Linked DNA regions of Homo sapiens: all the other regions are linked to region 4. Evidence: promoter capture Hi-C in 16 types of primary human blood cells and fetal thymus (Javierre and others, 2016). All regions are on one chromosome and are shown on one strand. Each heading gives the region's core, a stretch centred on a gene start or on the middle of the fragment in contact. The rest is flanking DNA. Distances are from core to core; before and after follow the strand shown.

What was found. The method cuts DNA at HindIII sites, captures the fragments that hold promoters and counts their contacts. A CHiCAGO score of 5 or more calls a contact.
Region 1: a contact is called between the fragment with the promoter of PSMD14 here and the fragment with the promoter of DPP4 in region 4, in 6 of 17 cell types (activated CD4 T cells, naive CD8 T cells, naive CD4 T cells and 3 more). The highest score is 9.8, in activated CD4 T cells.
Region 2: a fragment that was not itself captured here is called in contact with the fragment with the promoter of DPP4 in region 4 in 2 of 17 cell types (total CD4 T cells and fetal thymus); the score reaches 5.9 in total CD4 T cells.
Region 3: a contact is called between a fragment that was not itself captured here and the fragment with the promoter of DPP4 in region 4, in 1 of 17 cell types (non-activated CD4 T cells). The highest score is 6.2, in non-activated CD4 T cells.
Region 5: a contact is called between a fragment that was not itself captured here and the fragment with the promoter of DPP4 in region 4, in 2 of 17 cell types (naive CD8 T cells and naive CD4 T cells). The highest score is 5.3, in naive CD8 T cells.
Region 6: a fragment that was not itself captured here is called in contact with the fragment with the promoter of DPP4 in region 4 in 1 of 17 cell types (naive CD8 T cells); the score reaches 5.2 in naive CD8 T cells.

What each region holds. Positions count from the first base shown.
Region 1 is chr2:161,306,589-161,309,708 of GRCh38, forward strand. It overlaps PSMD14 (proteasome 26S subunit, non-ATPase 14), which reads left to right and starts at 1,837. Exons shown (of 12, transcript NM_005805.6): 1 at 1,837-2,016. RefSeq lists an enhancer at 1,705-2,164. The HindIII fragment of the contact is 7,205 bases long and covers 1-3,120 here.
Region 2 is chr2:161,230,295-161,233,504 of GRCh38, forward strand. TANK (TRAF family member associated NFKB activator) reads left to right here. Exons shown (of 8, transcript NM_001199135.3): 7 at 677-1,257. All of the region lies in intron 3 of PSMD14-DT (PSMD14 divergent transcript), which reads right to left. Among named protein-coding and RNA genes, the nearest start is that of LINC01806, 13 kb to the right of the region's middle. The HindIII fragment of the contact is 471 bases long and covers 1,546-2,016 here.
Region 3 is chr2:161,152,121-161,155,181 of GRCh38, forward strand. The region is part of intron 2 of TANK-AS1 (TANK antisense RNA 1); the gene reads right to left. It also overlaps a transcript of TANK not described here. Among named protein-coding and RNA genes, the nearest start is that of TANK-AS1, 6.6 kb to the right of the region's middle. The HindIII fragment of the contact is 1,011 bases long and covers 928-1,938 here.
Region 4 is chr2:162,072,819-162,075,828 of GRCh38, forward strand. DPP4 (dipeptidyl peptidase 4) reads right to left here and starts at 1,397. Exons shown (of 26, transcript NM_001935.4): 1 at 1,158-1,397; 2 at 581-668. The coding sequence starts at 1,163. It overlaps DPP4-DT (DPP4 divergent transcript), which reads left to right and starts at 2,039. Exons shown (of 3, transcript NR_147697.1): 1 at 2,039-2,117; 2 at 2,660-2,793. RefSeq lists enhancers at 916-1,115, 1,550-2,247, a silencer at 1,266-1,525 and a promoter at 1,802-3,010. The HindIII fragment of the contact is 4,875 bases long and covers 1-3,010 here.
Region 5 is chr2:161,249,875-161,252,681 of GRCh38, forward strand. PSMD14-DT (PSMD14 divergent transcript) reads right to left here. Exons shown (of 4, transcript NR_110593.1): 2 at 1,122-1,348. Among named protein-coding and RNA genes, the nearest start is that of PSMD14-DT, 3.4 kb to the right of the region's middle. The HindIII fragment of the contact is 247 bases long and covers 1,399-1,645 here.
Region 6 is chr2:161,387,655-161,390,832 of GRCh38, forward strand. All of the region lies in intron 8 of PSMD14 (proteasome 26S subunit, non-ATPase 14), which reads left to right. Among named protein-coding and RNA genes, the nearest start is that of TBR1, 27 kb to the right of the region's middle. The HindIII fragment of the contact is 1,048 bases long and covers 972-2,019 here.

The sequences.
Region 1 (3,120 bases), core at 587-3,086, 770 kb before region 4:
CAGAGGTTAGAGCTCAGGGCCTTCTCAGGCCTATCTTGAGTGTTCACATAACCCTAGACATATGCACACCCTAAGCACCTTCTACAGTCTCAGGAATATGTTAGCGTTTTTCAAAGCCCTATGGACATCTTATTCCCCAGCTAAATACTTTAGTATGGCTGGAGCAAAAGGTGCTCCAAACAAAGTTTAAGGGTTTTTTTTTTTTTTGACCTTTATAATGAATGTTATGGGGAGCCACTAGTGGAATTTTAAATAAAGAAGGAGCATGACTACATATAGCACAAAAATTTTTACCAGTGAGGTGGAGAATGGATTAAAAGGAATCAGACCGAAGGCGGAAAGATCAAAGAGCATTCTAAAAAAGTAGCCTGGGGAACATGGTGAAATCCTGTCTCTACTAAAAAAATAAAATAAATAAAAACATAAATAAAAATTAACTGGGCATGGTGGCAAGCGCCTGTAGCCCTAGCTACCTAGGAGGCTGAAGTGGGAGGGTTGCCTGAGCCCGGGGACGGGATGTTGCAGTGAGCCCAGATGGCGCCACTGCACTCCAGCCTGCGTGACAAAGCAAGACCCTAACTCAAAAATGCATTAATAAATAAATACATATAAAATAAAATAAAATAAAAAAGAAGTGAGGAAGGTCTGAGTTAAGGCCAAAGTGGGGAGTATTTAGAAGGGGAAGTGGTGGATTGGAAAAGCTGTTATGGAGATTACACATTTCATGGTTTCTACAGTGGGGAGAGATGAAAAAGAGGCAAGTGTTCATACTCTTAAGTTTCTGATTAGGAAAATTATTTGGAGGACGGGGCTACTCACCCCCTCCTCCCATAAAAAATGAATAGAGAGGCATAGGTTTGGGGGGGAAGCATAAAGATGTGGATCCAAATATTACCTATGAGTAAAATAATCTTTGTGTTTTTAAAGGTATTAATATCTTAAAGCAATTGTGCTACTCAAATCACAGTTTGGATCCAGGCGCTGTAATCTTTCCTCACCCTCTGTCCAGTAGATTCATCACCATTCTCGATTTAGGAATGCTTTAAAGATGCTTGTTATTTGGAACATATTTGAGAAAGTGACAGGAACGTGGCAAACAAGCTGCCTTAAACAGAGACTGTACCTAGACCTAGAGTGTAATATCAACTTGTCAAGTATATCTTCTGCAACTTTGCTTTTTGAAAGCCTAGCACAAAGTAGATCATGAGTAAAATGTGATTGCCGATAATTACATGGAGAAATGTGAATAAATGACTCTTTAAACCCTGTAAACTAAACTCGGCTTAAAATAGGTGGTTTGAACATTTGGGAAACCTTAGTTTTCCCTGAAATCCAATCCTTGCAAAGCAATAATGACAAGAGGTGGATAAAGCGGACTTACAGAAAAGGGCGTCTTACCGGTCCCCTCTAATCACACCATCCCCCCTCTTTTAAAAAAATTTTCTTCTCAGATAACCAAGTTAAATCTAGCTCAAATGAACCTTTTAGTTTTTGAGGAGGGCAATAATAGTAGTGAACACCAAAACGAAAGGGGATCTGGGCTTCAAAATACTAACAGTTCTATTTCCTAGCCAGTCGTCTCCCGGGCTGGATGTGCCGCCGTCCCAGATCTCAGCGGCGGCCGCAGAGCGCAGAGGTAGGGAGAGAAAAAGGAGGCGTCGGCGGGGCGCGAGCGACCAGGGCGCTAAGTGCCGCCTCACAGTCCTGCCAGAGACAGGAGACGCCGGGCCGCCCGCGCCGTCTGTCCCAAGAGCTCCTCCTGGACATCCGCTTGACTCTCCGTCGTCTCCAATTGGCCGTCGGGGAACGGAAGCCGAAGCAAACTAGTGAACCCGGAAGTGCTTCGCGGCGGAGGCCCGGGCAACTCTTTTGAATGGAATCGGGCTGATTCATCGCCGGTTTGCAGACAGAGCCGCGTCGGGTGTGCGCCGCTGCTGCTGTTGCCTCTGTCTTCGCGTCACCACAGAGGCAAGACAAGGGTCCATATCGCGGCATCCGGCTCCCGCCCGTCTTCAGGTAAGACCCAGAAGGCAGGCCTGGGAGGTCTGGGGAGGCAGCCGTGCTAGGCCGCCGCCAGCCCCGTGCTTTCCTGAGTCACGTTGCCCAGCTGAGTTGCCACAGGAGGCCTGGGCCGCGAGGGAGGAGCCCGGCCTCCTTCATTCTCTTCGCCTGCTCTCAGGGCTCTCTGGCAGGGTCAGGTCTGGATGTCGCCTCCTTTCTCCATTCTTTTCTGTTTGGCCGAATTCACATCATGGGAACCTCTTCCATCTATATAGAGAGAATCCTTGTTTATGGCCTGTTTGTCTGTGCTCTATCCATAGTTGTTAACCGGTCTGCTTTGAAGTTTTTCAAAGCAGACCGGGAAAACAAGGGAGAGAGAGTAGAATTAACTTTCCCATTGAATACGTTTGTTTTATCTCTTGTCCTTCCTGTAAGCCTTAACCCTTTTTCTGTTAGTGTTAGGTTTTCAGCTCCCTCCAAAAAGTAAACAAAAGTCCTGCAGATACACTGCTTTTGGACCTTGAATATCTTAAAAACAAAGTGTGCTACTATGGCTGTTAACTTACTTTCAATATCATACTAATTGAGTAATTGTTGGTAAATTGATTACATTTCTCGTTTTAAGTAAAGTAGAAATCTGCTACCGTATGTTACATCTTGCAACTTAATTTTCCTGGGGATGTAGCTCTGTGTCTGTCAAAAGAAAAAGAATGTAAACTTTTGAGTCTATAAACCTAGTGACTGAAGGAAAAATTCTCGAGAAAATAAATGGTAATATAAGTTGATAAAATATTATGGAAAGGCAGGGGAAAGGGTTTAAAAATGAGCATAAAATAGAGTTATAGTGTGAAAGTGATTTTGTTCCACTGGTCACAAGTGTTTTTTTAGTGCTTCTGACTTAATGTGTTTGAGAAAAGCAGCAAGACATGCACTGATACTGTAGAAATAACAAAAACATGAACACAGTTTTAGTGGAGATGATTAATATAATGGTGGCCTTCCTGTCACGTAAGGCTACCTACCAGCTGACTCATTTGAAGTTTAGAGGTTAAGATATATAGTGGTTCTGAATTAACTACAGTTAAGGTGTGTTTAGTGAAGTGCTATTTAGTGAAAAAG
Region 2 (3,210 bases), core at 531-3,030, 840 kb before region 4:
TGAGCTACAGAGGCCCTTTTGTCTACCAGATATTTACCTGTTTTTTACAGAGGTCTTTTTTAAAAAAAGATATAAGATGATAAAATAATCTATTCATCCACAGTTTTCTTAACATGCATCACAATATTTCATCCTTCCTTTGCCTTCACTGTCTTCTTTTTCCCAACTCCTGCAACCACCAGTCCCTCACATGGATTATTGAGAGCAGACAGTGGCTAAACTGATTAGTGATATACTTAGTTAGACAGTGACATTAATAATAAATGACCTAATTTTAGATATACCTAGTAAGATTTTCCCTTTTAACAACTTATTTGTCTAAGCAAACTCACAGTTATAGCTTCCGTTACTGACAAAATGTTTAAATGTATACACTACAAGCAAATGTTTTTCAAGTGTGGAGCAGTGTAACTGTGAACAAGATGCAAAGCTTACGGCAGAAGACTTAGGAAAAGACAAAGTAGTTAAATTGCGACTAATAAGCTATGTTTCAGTTCACCCGCTGGAGACTGCTAATATTCTGTGTAAGATGGTAGCAAATTTTAAAATCCCAGTTGTCTTCATTTGCTATAAAAACCAATAGAAAAAATAATAATAATCTCTCCAAAGCTGATTGAACAGATTTTTTTAATGATTTGAATGCGGCTGTTTCTCTTTTGTGTTCTTCTCCCTCCAGAAACACAGTGCTCTGTGCCTATACAGTGTACGGATAAAACAGATAAACAAGAAGCGCTGTTTAAGCCTCAGGCTAAAGATGATATAAATAGAGGTGCACCATCCATCACATCTGTCACACCAAGAGGACTGTGCAGAGATGAGGAAGACACCTCTTTTGAATCACTTTCTAAATTCAATGTCAAGTTTCCACCTATGGACAATGACTCAACTTTCTTACATAGCACTCCAGAGAGACCCGGCATCCTTAGTCCTGCCACGTCTGAGGCAGTGTGCCAAGAGAAATTTAATATGGAGTTCAGAGACAACCCAGGGAACTTTGTTAAAACAGAAGAAACTTTATTTGAAATTCAGGGAATTGACCCCATAGCTTCAGCTATACAAAACCTTAAAACAACTGACAAAACAAAGCCCTCAAATCTCGTAAACACTTGTATCAGGACAACTCTGGATAGAGCTGCGTGTTTGCCACCTGGAGACCATAATGCATTATATGTAAATAGCTTCCCACTTCTGGACCCATCTGATGCACCTTTTCCCTCACTCGATTCCCCGGGAAAAGCAATCCGAGGACCACAGCAGGTAACTGTTTTGCATTAACAAATATATTATTATGTGTGAACACACATTTTGCCATACATGCACAGATATGCATCTCTTTTACGTTATCAAACATCCTTTTTAAACTACTGACAGCCAAAGTTAAGGCTTTCAAAAAAACAAGTCCCATAATAAATGACATGAAATTAGAAAAGCTGAATATGGTAAAACTTTATTGGAAAGTACCTTAGAATTTATGTCAGATTTAAAAATACATGTTAAGCCTTATCCATATCTGTCGTGGTGTCACTTTCTTAGTTCCTTATTCAAAGCTTGTTTACTCAGGATTAATAAGAATATTAAATTTCATAGTGTGAAACAAATGCTGTTTTATTTAATAGTTTGTGTATATCATATTCATCTTTATAAGAATTCAAGATCTTTCATAAGTAAATAATTGCATCTTACATTTCTATTTATCAAAATAAGTGAACTATCTTTCAGTGAATACTTCTACTACATCTTCAGTTATATAGTACACAGATCTGTAGGGTTTAGTTTGGTTTTGGTTGCTAATCTGGAAATGAACATGTAGCCTAGTATATTTTTTAAATAGTCTCTGCATGTGTATGATATCAAATATTTTATTTAATGTTTCTAAAGCTCACAGACTAATATCCCCCAAACCACTCCTGCCCTCCCTTTTAGATTCAAATTCTATCACAGAATGATTCTTTTAGTTAAAAAAAAGTTTAATGTCTGAAAGCAAATGAAAACTATATAATTTTTACAAAAAACAGAAGCTTATGAAAATACAGATTGATGTAAATGTCTATGTAACTTGCAAACATTTGTCTGATTTCTCTTTGCCTTGAGATATTTAATTTTTTTAAAAAAGTTATTAATACCCTTTTGCTTTAAGTACACATATAGGTTATAGACTTAAATCAGCACGCAAAGAAGGCAGTTGTCAAGCTGTGGTATATTTTAGTAGTGGGAAGAACTAGGCATGGCTGACAATAAGTTTTAATTATAACCTCACTTATGTTCTTGTTCATTGTACTTTATTTCACATCATAGTCTCAGTTATAGTTGCTACTAAATGAAACAAATTAAACAATTTCATTTATTGCAAGTAGAATTCCTGTGGAGCTGTGAAGTGCATCAGTTCTAATGCTTGTTACTTTTTTCTCTATTATATGTCTTGCTTGTTCTTTTACTAGTCTGTGCATTCATGTTTCAGTAGATGGCACCCTGCATTGTACATTTGCTTTCTATACTACAGCAAGGGAAACAGCTGGTATGTGATTACAACTTGATGGAAAAGTATTCAGCTTAAAAAATTCAGGAGAATTAGTGTTGAGTTGTCACAAGACATGGGGCATAAGGTTAGATAATTGATATTTTGGCAGAAAAAGCAAAGAAATTAGTTTGTTTTGAAGACCATGTTACAGTTTAGGATGGAAAGAATATTTCTTAAAATGAGTTTTTTAAAAAAAACCTTTTAAGCTATTTTATTAGTATTAATAAAGCTAGTATTATGCAAGCTAGTATAAGTACAAAGCTAGTATAAGTACAAAATTCCTGAGTTGGGCCAGGTACGGTGGTTCATGCCTATAATCCCAGCACTTTGGGAGGCTGAGGCAGGAGGATTGATTAAGCCTAGGAATTTGAGACCAGCCTGGGCAACATAGTAAGACCTTGTCTCTACAAATACGTATAGTTATATAGATATATGTAGCTGGGTGTGGTGGCTTGTGCCTGTGGCCTCCAGCTACTTGGGAAGCTGAGGTGGGAGGATTGCTTGAGCTAGGTAGTTCGAGGTTGCAGTGAGCTGTGATGGTGCCATCACACTCCAGCCTGGGTGACAGAGCAAGACCCTGTCTCAAAATAATAATAATAATTTTTTTTTTAAAAAAATCCTGAGTTGTTTGTAGATAGTAGCAAAGACAAGTGAAATTTTTGGCTACATATTTCAAAATTTTACTTTCTATC
Region 3 (3,061 bases), core at 183-2,682, 920 kb before region 4:
CAGATTGATAATTATTTTTAAGGATTTGTCTTTTAAATCATATAGGAAATAAAAAGAGGAGTTACAAACCAAAATACAATTATCCTAGCTTTAATATATTTACCTATGTAGTTGTCTTTACTGAAGTTCTTTATTTCTTTGTATGGCCTCAAATTATCTCCTAGTAGTCAGCCTGAAGTACTCCCTTTATCATTTCTTTAGGGTAAGTCTACTAACACCAAGCTCCTTCTGCTTTCATTTATCTCAAAATGTCTTAATTTCTTCTTTATTTTTGAAGGATAGTCTTGCCATTTATAGAATTGTTGGTTTACACTTTTTTCTAGCACTTTATATATGTCATTCTACTATTTTCTGGCCTTCATAGTTTCAAAGCAAAATTGGCTGTTAATCTTATTGATGATCCCTTGCACATAATGTGTCACTTCTTTCTTGCTGCTTTCAATATTCTCTCTTTGTCCTCAGTTCAAAAATTGCCTCAAAAATTGAGAGTATCTGTACAATGAAATAATATATGAACAGGACCTGGCCTACAGAAGGAACTCAATAAATACTGGGTAATATAAATGATTCCTGTTATTTAGTGGGTGATTCTACATGCATTTGATTTTTAATTTAAATAATTAGCCATAATTATAACTTAAAATGTCTAAAAATTCACACTGAGAAGGTCTAGATATTGGACTTACTAGAAAAAGACTTTCAGTCAATTGTCTTAAATATGCCCAAAGAGCTAAAGGATAATTTGATTATAATGCCTCAGTGTGGATTTTTTTGAGTCTATTCTACTTAGAGTTCATTGAGCAACTTGAATAAGCTGGTTCAGACTTTTAGCAAATTGGGAAGTTTTCAGCCATTATTTCTTGAAATATTTTTTCTGCTTCATTTCTCTCATTTCTCCTTCAAGACTCCCACAATGCATAGAAGGTAAGCTTGATGTTAACTATCTTATCACATTCTCTGACTCTTTCTTCTGCTTGCTGAAATCTGCTATTGAACCCCTATAATTAATTTTCCATTTGTTATTGTGCCATTCAGCTCCAGAATTACTATTTGGTTCTGTTTTATAATTTATATCATGTTTTTATATTCTCCTTTTGTTCATAAATCATTTTCCTGATTTCTTTTAGTTCTTTGTCCATGGTTTTCTTTAGTTCTTCGGGCATATTTAAGGCAACTGATTGAAAGTCTTTTTCTATTAAGTCCAATATAGAGGCCTTCTCAGTATGAACTTTTAAAGACATTTTAAGTGATAATTATGACTTTTTATTTAAATTAAAAATCAGGCTGGGTGTGATCCCTATTCACACCTGTAATCCCAGCACTTTGGGAAGCAGAGGCAGATGGATCTCTTGAGCTCAGGAGTTTAATACCAGCCTGGGCAACATGGTGAAACCCTGTCTCTACAAAAAATACAAAAATTAGCCAGGCATGATGGTGCACGTCTGTAGTCCCAGCTACTCAGGAGCATAAGGTGGTAGAATCACATGAGCCCAGGAAGTCAAGGCTGCAATGAGCCAAGATCCTGCCCTGCACTCCAGCCTGGGTGACAACAGTGAGGCCCTGTCTCAAAAAAAAAAAAAAAAAAAAAAAATCAACTGCATGTAGAACCACCTACTAAGTTACAGGAATTTTCTATATTACCCAATATTTACTGCAGTCCTCCTGTAGGCCAGATCTTGTTCATACATTATTTTGTTGGACAAGTACACTCGACCTTTGACAGGAAAAGAAACTGAGGCACAGGATTAGTAAAGTCATATGATTAGTAAATGGCAATACCAACATATGAACGAGGCAACTTTAACACAGAACTCTCACTTACAATCATCATGCTTTAGCTTCTCTCAGCTGTAGTTTGCCTTCGTGGGGGCAATGATAACCTAGGACTCTGCCTAGTGAGTATAAGTTTCTCTAATATCAGTCATAATGGCCATCCTAAGCTTAAAAACATTCAAATATGTATCTTGAAATTTCAAGCATAATGCATGTCATAAAGAGGAAAGGACAGGGTAAAATAGGAGCCCACAGCTAAGCCCACAGTCTTAACCTAGAAAGGAAATCAAGTGTGGCCTAGCTTAGAATCAGATCATTCAGTAGAGGACTCAACAGACCAGGTAAAATATGAGGAAAACATGTTCTAGGCTGAGGAAAGCAGCAAATACCTGAAAAGGACAAAAGAGTGATCACTTAAGGTATTAAAAGAAGCCCAAAATCACCAGGAAGAAGCAGCAGGACATAAGTCTGGAGAGTTAGGAAGATGCCTTATTCCAGGATTAAGATTTTGGATTTTATTCTAAAGGTGAGGGGAAGACATTTAATAGTTGTAGGTGGTAAAGAAACATAACAACATAGAATCTGACAAGGGAGAAAGTGAGGCAAACAATTAGGAGGTTAGCATTGAAACTATGAGTTGATGGTGGCTTGAACAACGGGTAGGAATGGAGATAGATAGTAGCAATGGGGACATAGAGTGTAAGCATGCAAGAAATACTGCAGAGGAGTACTCACATGATGTACCTGATTGGGTGACTGATTGAATGTTGGGAATTAAGATATTTAAATCTTTATTATGTGGACAATGTTTTAATTTCTTTCTTCCTCTATTAACATAAAAATTAAGCATACACTTTTTTTTTTTTTTTGAGACAGAGTCTCACTCTGTTGCCCAGGCTGGAGTACAGTGGTGCCATCTCAGGTCACTGCAACCTCCGCCTCCCAGGTGCAAATGATTCTTGTGCCTCAGCTTCCTGAGTAGCTGGGATTACAGACGTGTACCACAACACCTGGCTAATTTTTGTACTTTTAGTAGAGATGAATTTTCTCCATGTTGGCCAGGCTGGTCTCGAACTCCTGGCCTCAAGTGATCTGCCTGCCTTGGCCTCTCAAAGTGATGGGATTACAGGTGTGAGCTACAATGTGCAGCCAAAAACAAGCGTACACTTTTAAATTCTACTTGTAGTTATTTATCTTCATATTAAAAAAACTAAAATGATACATCTTCAATTATTAGAATGAGATCCTGTAATTTTCTTATTTCTATATATAGATTAGAAAATGAGTA
Region 4 (3,010 bases), core at 147-2,646:
GCTTTATTATTTAGCTCTGCAATACTGCTAAATTGGTCAATTACTTCCCTGCCTCCCCACCCTCCAACTGAATTCTCACCACCCTTGAGGGAAAACAGTCTGGGTTCCCTGTGGAACATCATTTCTCAAAACTGTATTTTGGGGCTTGCTTTCTCATTTTTCCTTTCCATTTCAGATATCCTTACTGCTGTCTTTGGGCTCTTTAAACACTGCCTTTTTTCCTTTTTCGATCACACCCAAAAACTTTTCTCAAAAATTACATGTAAATTTAAAAATTTACAAATTAAATTTAAAATTGAAATTTTAAAAATCCCGACTCTCCCTAATTTCAGGAAGCATGCATTTATTATACATAACAAGACGTGAAAGCCGCAAGAGTTTCAGCCTAAACACTGAAGACCCCGCGAAGTGAATCCAGCTGCTGCTCTACAAGCAGCAACAACAACTGGGAAGCCTTCTCAGCTACACTTCGGGGCACTGGTCCAACCCCACGCAAAATCCCTCGTTTCCCTTAGCGTGGTAAGACGGAGCCTGACCTGAGCTCCAACTGTCCTATCTTTTTCAAATGTTTCAAACTTACTGCCTTTGTTCAGCAGAACCACGGGCACGGTGATGATGGTGACAAGCGCAGCAGCACCCAGCAGTCCCAGAAGAACCTTCCACGGTGTCTGCAAGCCGAGCAGATCAAGTCCAATTAGAGGGAAGCGTGTGGCCCCAGTTTCCGTAGGAGGGTCGGGGCTGCTCCAGAGGCAGCAGGATTTGCAGGTGGGAGTGCGTTAGAAGAGGGAGACCGCGGGCTGGGGGTGGGGGTGGCGTCTGGAGTGCGCCAGTTGGAGTTCTCTAAGGCGGGTGCCCTTGAACTTGTGCCTTCAGAGCACATTAGCGTTGGTTTCTCTACCCCTGCCCGGGTTCGGGCGTGCGTTCTGTGAGTGGCTCTCCGGGACATTCAAAGCTCGACGCCAGGGTCCTAGCAGAAGCCAGGGTCCGAAAGCTAAGCGAGAGCTCTGGGACGTCCCTTCACCTGTCAGAGGGTGGCCTTGGGGCTTCCGCCTAAGGGGAGTCCCTGGTCCGGTTTCGCCAGCTTTTGGGCCATTTGGGGAGTTTGGCGAAGAGGTCCCCACAGCTCGCCCCGGGGACGTACGTGGCGCGGCACTCACCTTCATCGTCGGCGTCTCCTCGGAAGTGAGCGTTCAGAGAAGGAGCGCAGGCAGAAGTCACCGCGGGCGGCGGAGACGCGCGTCCTGCACCGCTGCTCCGGGCGGTGGAGTCACTCGCCGCTGGCAAGTTTCGGCCCCGAGTTAAACATTAGTGAGCGCCGAGCCCGCTGGGTATAAAGGCGCCGCGGGCAGGCTGCAGGGCAGGCGGCGCGGGAGCAGGCGCGCGTGGCGCGGGGCACTGGCATCCCGGCCGGGGGGAGCCCGCGAGGGCCCCCTGAGGGCGGTGTAGGGCGCTGGGCGGCAGCCGGGGCGCAGAGTGCGGGGCCCGGAGGAGCCGTGGGGGAGGGGAAAGGGCGCGCGGCCTCGGATGCGCAGACCCTGGGCCGGCGACTCGGGGACCCTGCTCCCTCTTAGCTAAAAATGACGTCGGCGTTCAGCTCCTCCAACCTCACGTGGACAGGCGAGGGAACCGAGACCCAGAGAGGGCAGGGGACTTTGGCAAACTCACACAGCCCACCGCAGGCAACTGGAACTGAAACCCAGGACTCCGTCTCTTGCCAGTGAAAGTTATGTTAGGAAGCAGTGAGGGGTCTAAAGCAGTATGAAAGGCAAAGAGAAAAGGTGATTGTTCCCTCTTGAATGGCCCTTGGAAGCTGAGTATCTGGATTCACCCTCCCTAGGGAATTTCCCGATTGTCTTGCAGGCTTACACACTCATCAAGATGACAAAAATAATGACAGTAACACTTATGTGGAACTTGACTTTTTCCCAGGTGCTGCTCTAAGCATTTACTGTGTTTGTTTTACAGGAAGGAAGACTGTACACAGAGAATAAATAACTTGGCCAAGCCATTCAGCTAGGAAGTTGTAGATCCTAAATTAAGAGTTCAAGGTCTTAATGGCTACTCTATGCGGCCTCTCATAGTCTTTTCAAGGGTTTTGGAGAAGAATAAAAGATCAGGTATGGCTTCTCCCTCCCCCAGCTCTCTATTGTTCCCTAAAGGATTATTCATTCGTTCATTCATTCCTACATCCTCCCATTTATTCCAGTCATCCACAGATGTTTGAGTGGTTACAATGTGCCAGCCTCCCTTCTAGGTACTGGAGATAAAGTGGGACAAGAGAGGTGAGGTCTGGACCCTTGGCACTTTCACGATAAAATACACAGGTAAACATTTGCCTTTAGGGCCCCCTGTGATTACTTCCACTCTTGCAGATAAGAGGATAAGGCCTCTTCAGCTTGTTCACAGCAGCTGAAAAGCAAAGCCTCTCTGTCAGTAGAGGTAAAAGATTAAGAATGCAGAGTCCGATGGGGCATTACCACATGATTATGAATTAATGCAATTTTCCATCTTTTATTTCCAATCCAGGCATTGCTTTTGAACTCAGTCATCTTTTCCCCCTTGCCCACTAGTTGCTTGTGATACATCAGTATCCTCACTCACCCCCAACTCCAGAGGCTGAAACTAACTCTCCTCCTCCCTCTTCCAACTGCTGAGGAAGATGAGTCAATGGTGTTACTGGACCCTGTGAACTGATGCTGTGAAGAGAGGCCATTTAACACGGACTACGGGGAATGGTGCCACAGGGGGCTCAGTGCTGCCCTTCACTCTCAGCATTTTGCTCACTCAGCATTGGTAAGCCACATCAGCCTCGGTGAAGGAAGTCTGGAGAGTTAAGCCTGTGCTTCATCTCCATGCCAGCACCATGGCACTCATTGTACATTCAGCAAGCCCCAAGGAAGCTGGCAGGAGGCTGGCTGACATCTACGGGACAGGTCAATTTGTTCTCTGGAGGGCACTCCATGAGACGCAAATATCTTCACACCCTGTGCCCATTTCAAGAGACTCTCTC
Region 5 (2,807 bases), core at 272-2,771, 820 kb before region 4:
AAGTGATGGTGATAGAATAACAGTAGCGTCTTGGTGAAGCCCTTTCTCTTTGCTAGACACTTCACGTACATTCCCTCATTCAGTCGTTAATAATCACCTAATGAACCCAACGTGATTTTGTTTTACTGATGAGAAAAATGAGGCTAAGTTTAAGTCACATAGCTTGTAATGGATGAGGCTTTATAGCTGTGGGACTCTAGAGTCCATCTGATCATGTGATGTAGTTCCATTCTGGTTTCTGAAGGACAGAGACATGGAGGAGGTTTGAAAACTGTCTCTTTCCCCTCTTAAAATTCAGTTTTTCCTTTACTAAATCCAAAAGAGTAAGTGAAGTGGTCCAAGAATTTAGCAATGTAGTCAAGGTCCATTTGATTAGGAAGTCTTTATATGACTAGAAACAGGATTGCTTTGGCACATACATAAAGACTCTACACATCCATCCTCAAATTTAGCAATTTGAAGCAGTTAGCTACACGGACAGTTTTGTATGCATTGCTAAATGCAGACACAAAAACTGCATTTGCAAAAAGAGGAAACCCAGTTAAACTAGGTTGCAAATTTGGCCCTAATTTAGCGTAGCATTTGTGATACATATAGGTTAGAGTGACATTTATATAATGGTGTGAAATATGAGAAAGTTCCAATGCTAGACACAAAGACTTTTAAAAATTGCTTTTGCCTACTTTGGTTAGTTTAAGAAACAGGAGGAAGAATTTGGTTTTTCAAGTGATGGGAAGCCTTTAAGGATGTTGGAACACTGTTCAGTCCCCTGGGGTTCTGCCTGCTGTACAATTTTAAATGTCTTTTAGCTAAAAAATTGGCCAACAAGGGAAACACAGAGATGAAATATCTTCTTTCTTATCTGGAAAGTGAGAAACTATAGGTGGCTAACATAATCCAATTTTGATAGTCGAATAAATGGTCAGCTTTTGGGGTTAGAAAGTCATAATCCTCCTTGTTAATATGTCTATCTAACTGGAGTAACTACCTACCTATTAGAATTTATCTTGGAAATTTTGTCCTTATGCTCAGTTGTAGACGTGTTTCAGCTTAAGAAATACAGCCAAAAATGAGACTAGATAAATATACCATGTTTCATGTAAATGCTGCTATCATGGTACCTGAAACTATTTCCATTTCTTCATTGAAGACCACTGGAGGGCAGTGTTTTCTCCTTTGGGAACAGCACCTGGTTTCACATGGAGACTGCATAGATGTGTTAAAAAGGCATCTAGGTTACAGGAAATGAGTTGTACTTCTCATTCAGGCTGTGCTTGGAATTTACCCCCTCCTGTTTACGTGTCATTCAGATTGTTCCTTATCATACTGCCTGTCAAATTAGTTGTACCTGAAATCAGATTCCAAAAGATCATGTACAATACATATTTACTGTTTTAAAGCTTTATATTCATTAACTATTTGAGGCATTATGTTAAGTTCATTTTGCTAATATAAATAGCAAATAAAAAAGGATATATAAGCAAGAGTAGGCAGTTTTAACCAGATGCTTTGCACTTAAAATTTCAATATTTCATTGATTTTATTTTCAGTATAATTTTATTACATATAATATGTATACATATATTTGTCACCAAATTAGCAAATTCACATTTTCTGGAAAGAACAAATGAAGACTTTTCCTAGAAGCTTATTTGTCATATCTTATGATATGCCTTGTTCCCTAAGGATGGTATGTGGAAAAATGTTTAATTTCTTCTATTTTAAAAAATGATCTATTGCTGAGTATTAAATTATAAAATTATACTAATTTGTGTTTCCATTAGTTAAAAAATGAAACTGGATTACATATTAATTTGGTGTGTCAGGGGTCCATTTAATCTTTATTTAAAGGCATATAATGCAAACTGAATTCTTTTAATTATAATAGTCGTTTCATTGTTAAAAATGAAAATATCATATATTTTAGCTCTGTGACTTTGTCCAGCAAAATACTGCTACTTTTGCAAAATCAATATATAATTTTAGTCTAATGATTTACTTGATTTATTTTTTTCAATAAAGTGCCCAGAAGCTTACCTGGAACTTGGCCAAAATAAGGCAGAGCAACTAATCACTTGAGGAAAAACATAAATAACAATATCTGTATCATAAATGCTTTTTAAAAGTATTTCATTTTTATAACATTATTTCCGATTACAAAAGTAATACATGTTCATTGTGTACAGCCGCGTGCCACCACGCCCGGCTAATTTTTTGTATTTTTAGTAGAGACGGGGTTTCACTATGTTAGGAAGGATGGTCTCAATCTCCTGACCTCGTGATGCGCCCGCCTCGGCCTCCAAAAGGGCTGGGATTACAGGCGTGAGCCACTGTGCCTGGCCTCTTATACATATTTTTATGCACTAGTAAGTATTAAAAATAATTAGGATATATGACATTACTCATTGATGAGTGACACTTCCCTTAAAATATATCACATTTTCCCATGTCATTAAATACTAACTATAGTATTCCATAGTATAAATGCACCATAGTTTGTCTAACAAGTTCTCTAACACTATGTATTTGGTAATTGCTAATTTTTCCTTTTTTTGAGATAGAGTCTCACTCTGTCACCCAGGCTGGAGTGCAGTGGTACAATCTCGTCTCACTGCAGCTTCCACCTCCTGGGTTCAAGCGATTCTCCTGCCTCAACCTCCTGAGTAGCTGGGACTATAGGCATGTGCCACCATGCCCGGCTAATTTTTGTATATTTTAGTAGAGATGGGGTTTCACTATGTTGGCCAGGGTGGTCTCGAACTCTTGACCTCAAATGATCCACCCACCTAGGCCTCCCAAAGTGCTGG
Region 6 (3,178 bases), core at 246-2,745, 690 kb before region 4:
TGCAAGTGTATATTTTATAGATGGTGCCTATATATTTATACCAGGATATTAGCATTGGTTACCTTTGGATGGTAGAATTATGAGATTTTTTTGTCTTTCCTTGTCCATATTTCTTAAATTTTTTTACAGTGAAACATATATTGCTTTTAGAAAATGTTATTTTTTAAAGTACTACTTGACAGTGTTGAAATAAGCTAAGAGACAAAGGTTATTTTCACGTTCATGTTTTATATAATAGAAGCCACTAATAATCCTGATAGAGAGGAGAAAGTATAATGCCTATCCTCTAGGCTTTTATATTAATATATGATAATGTATATTATTTTTATTTTGCACTTGGAACATTTGGCTATTACTTTCAAATGTTTAGAATTGAGAGTTAACAAGCATTTATTTTAGTAACTAAATTTTTTAAACTATTCCATTATAAACTGTTCAGTGACATTTTGGATTCTTAAGTGTCACAGTAAATTTGAAGATTGGTAGTCAGTCTCATGGAAATTTACTAAATATTGATGCATAGATGCATGTGCTAAGGCTAAGAGCCTCTAAGTATAGTCTTGAGTACAGTTGCATTGTTTAATAGAGTTAAGCTATTTGGAAAACATTGTTTCAGTAATTACTGAACATATAAGTTATAAAACAATTGCACTAGAAAGGAGCCATTGTAGTCATTTAGTACATGAGGAAACCTGAGGCCCATAAAGTTGAGTTGCCCAGGTAATCCAGTGAGGTAATGTAGGAACTAGTACTCATAACCAGACTGCTTCATTCTTTTATATTATCATTGGAAATTTAATTAATTAATTTTGGCATAGAAAATATATATACAGTTAAAAAAATTTAAAGTACAAAGTCATTTAGCAAAAACTCTCCCTTCCTCTTTTGCCTTCTGCAACTCAGTTCTCCACTCTAGAGGGAACCACAAAACACATTTTGTTTCTTTTCAGTTATTCTATTTATATTCAAAAAGCTTCATTTTAGAACGTGATTTAAAGGATATCAGTTACCACCGTATTTTCAGTTTATCAATATAAAATAAATTAAGGCAAACAAATTTGTCTTTAGATCCAAGCACACCTTTTTAAGGAGCATGAAAACTTTTAAAAACTTATCAGGAACCCATGAATAGCTTATATATAATCCGTAAGCCGTGTGTTTTATAATGCACCTGCTTTTCCACAGCAGTGAGTGCATAGAGGTAAAATCATAAGTCAGTTGGTCTTGTGTAGTTCTACATGAACCCAAAAAGGACATGGCCGGTTGACTTATGATTTGGGAGGAAGGCACTGGGGGCACACAGCAGGTGAGTAAGTGAAATTGAAAGACTACTTGAGGATATCATTTGATTTAAACTTACCTTTGTTTTGTTATTGTTATACCTGCTGATCTTTCATGCTGTCTGTGTTAGTTTTAATGCTTTTATCTATATAATGTAATTGAAAATCAAGTAGATTGTGCCTTCAGACACCAGTTAATATTTCATTAGTACAGTTAGTCTCAAAAATATAGGGCCTAGTATCTGTGAGTCCATTAACTGGCTTCTGTATGTATTGGCTACAGCAGTTACTAGCTTTATGACCACCATGTAGGGTTGTGCAAGTAGTGAGTGCATCGCGCAAATGTGCTTGGATGAGGGAGCTTCCAGCTCAAGCTCCACTCTCTACGCCAGACTATGTCTGCTTAGAGGACTGAGCACCTTTTTCTAATTCTCTACCAGGCTGATTCACCTCCTAATGTACACGAATATGAGCACAGATTAAAGGAAGCCCTGATCATTTCTACTTTTTGATCTGTACAGTATAGCATTTTTATGCACTAAAATTTAATTCATTGCTTCTGATGATTATTGAAATGAGTAAGGATTTAATATACACTCTTGGTACTTTACAATCAGTCACTGCTCCCTATGGAATTTCATAGCTCACTTTTATAACAGACATTGGTAAAATAAGAATCTATTGTTAAAGTACTCATCTAAAATATTTTAATACTCATTGGAGTGATTTTTGCTAGCAAAGCTTAAAAATTAACATAATGCTTTGTTTCATCCTGATCCTTAAAGTAAATAGACTTAATCCAAGAATTTCCTGACATGTATTGTGGCATAGTATGTTAGAAAGAACATAGGCTATGGAATCAGAATGACCTAGGTTCAGATCCCCATCTAGCCTTTTACTAGCTAGAAACTTGGACAAATTAATATTTGTGTCTTATTTTCTTTCTTTTTTGTTGTTTTTTTTTTTTTTTTTTTTTTTAGAGATGGGGTATTGCTATGTTGTCCAGGCTGGTCTTGAACTCTTGGGCTTAAGTGATTCTCCTGCCTCAGCCTCCCAGAGTGCTGGGATTACAGGCTTGAGCCACTGAGCCCGACCCTGCATTTTATTTTCATCTGTCAAAATACAAATTGAATTGCCCTACCTTACAGTACTATGAAGATTAGAAGATGTAATGTGTAAAGCAGATACTAGCTGCTCATTAAATGTTCTCTTCTTTACCCCTTCTTCCTCTACCTCAGTGACATCTTAAGACCTACATTGTAAAAGTCTATTAGTTAGAGAAGTGGTGGTTATTTTGGTTAGTTTTTCTCTTTAGATTCCTGAGGGTTAACCCCAAAGTCCTTTTTGTTTTTATACTTGTTAAAAATATCCCTAAAGGTTTATTTCTGACTTTCATGTTTTTCTAGGCTGCCAGAGGATCCTTTAGGTCCACCAGAGTACTGTTGAACCTCATTTGAACACTTGATGTTGTCAGAGTTAGATATGGGGGCAGTTGTGAATTGATTTCAGGACATCCAGGATTATTGTTTCTTAATAAAGCCATGCTATTAGCTTAAGATTTTATTATGATTGGCCTGTTCACCTTGGAGACAGAGTGAGGTGAAAAAAATTCTGGTTGGTGAGATTGCATGTCACTGGATAAGAGCATGAGCTAGACAGACCCAGTAAAGACCAAAATCCACATAGTTAATTTGGAGACATGCATAACATAATTATTTGAATCAATCAAAACTGAATTAGGAAAAGGGGAATTCCAGATTAATGTGGGTAAAGAAACAGCTGTGTTATTGTGGCTTTTTAGGCTTTTCATTTGAAATACCCATGAGCCCCCTAGATATCATAAAGTTAGATTTAATAAATTATGAATGATTTATAAACTTAGCTTATGATAAGATCAA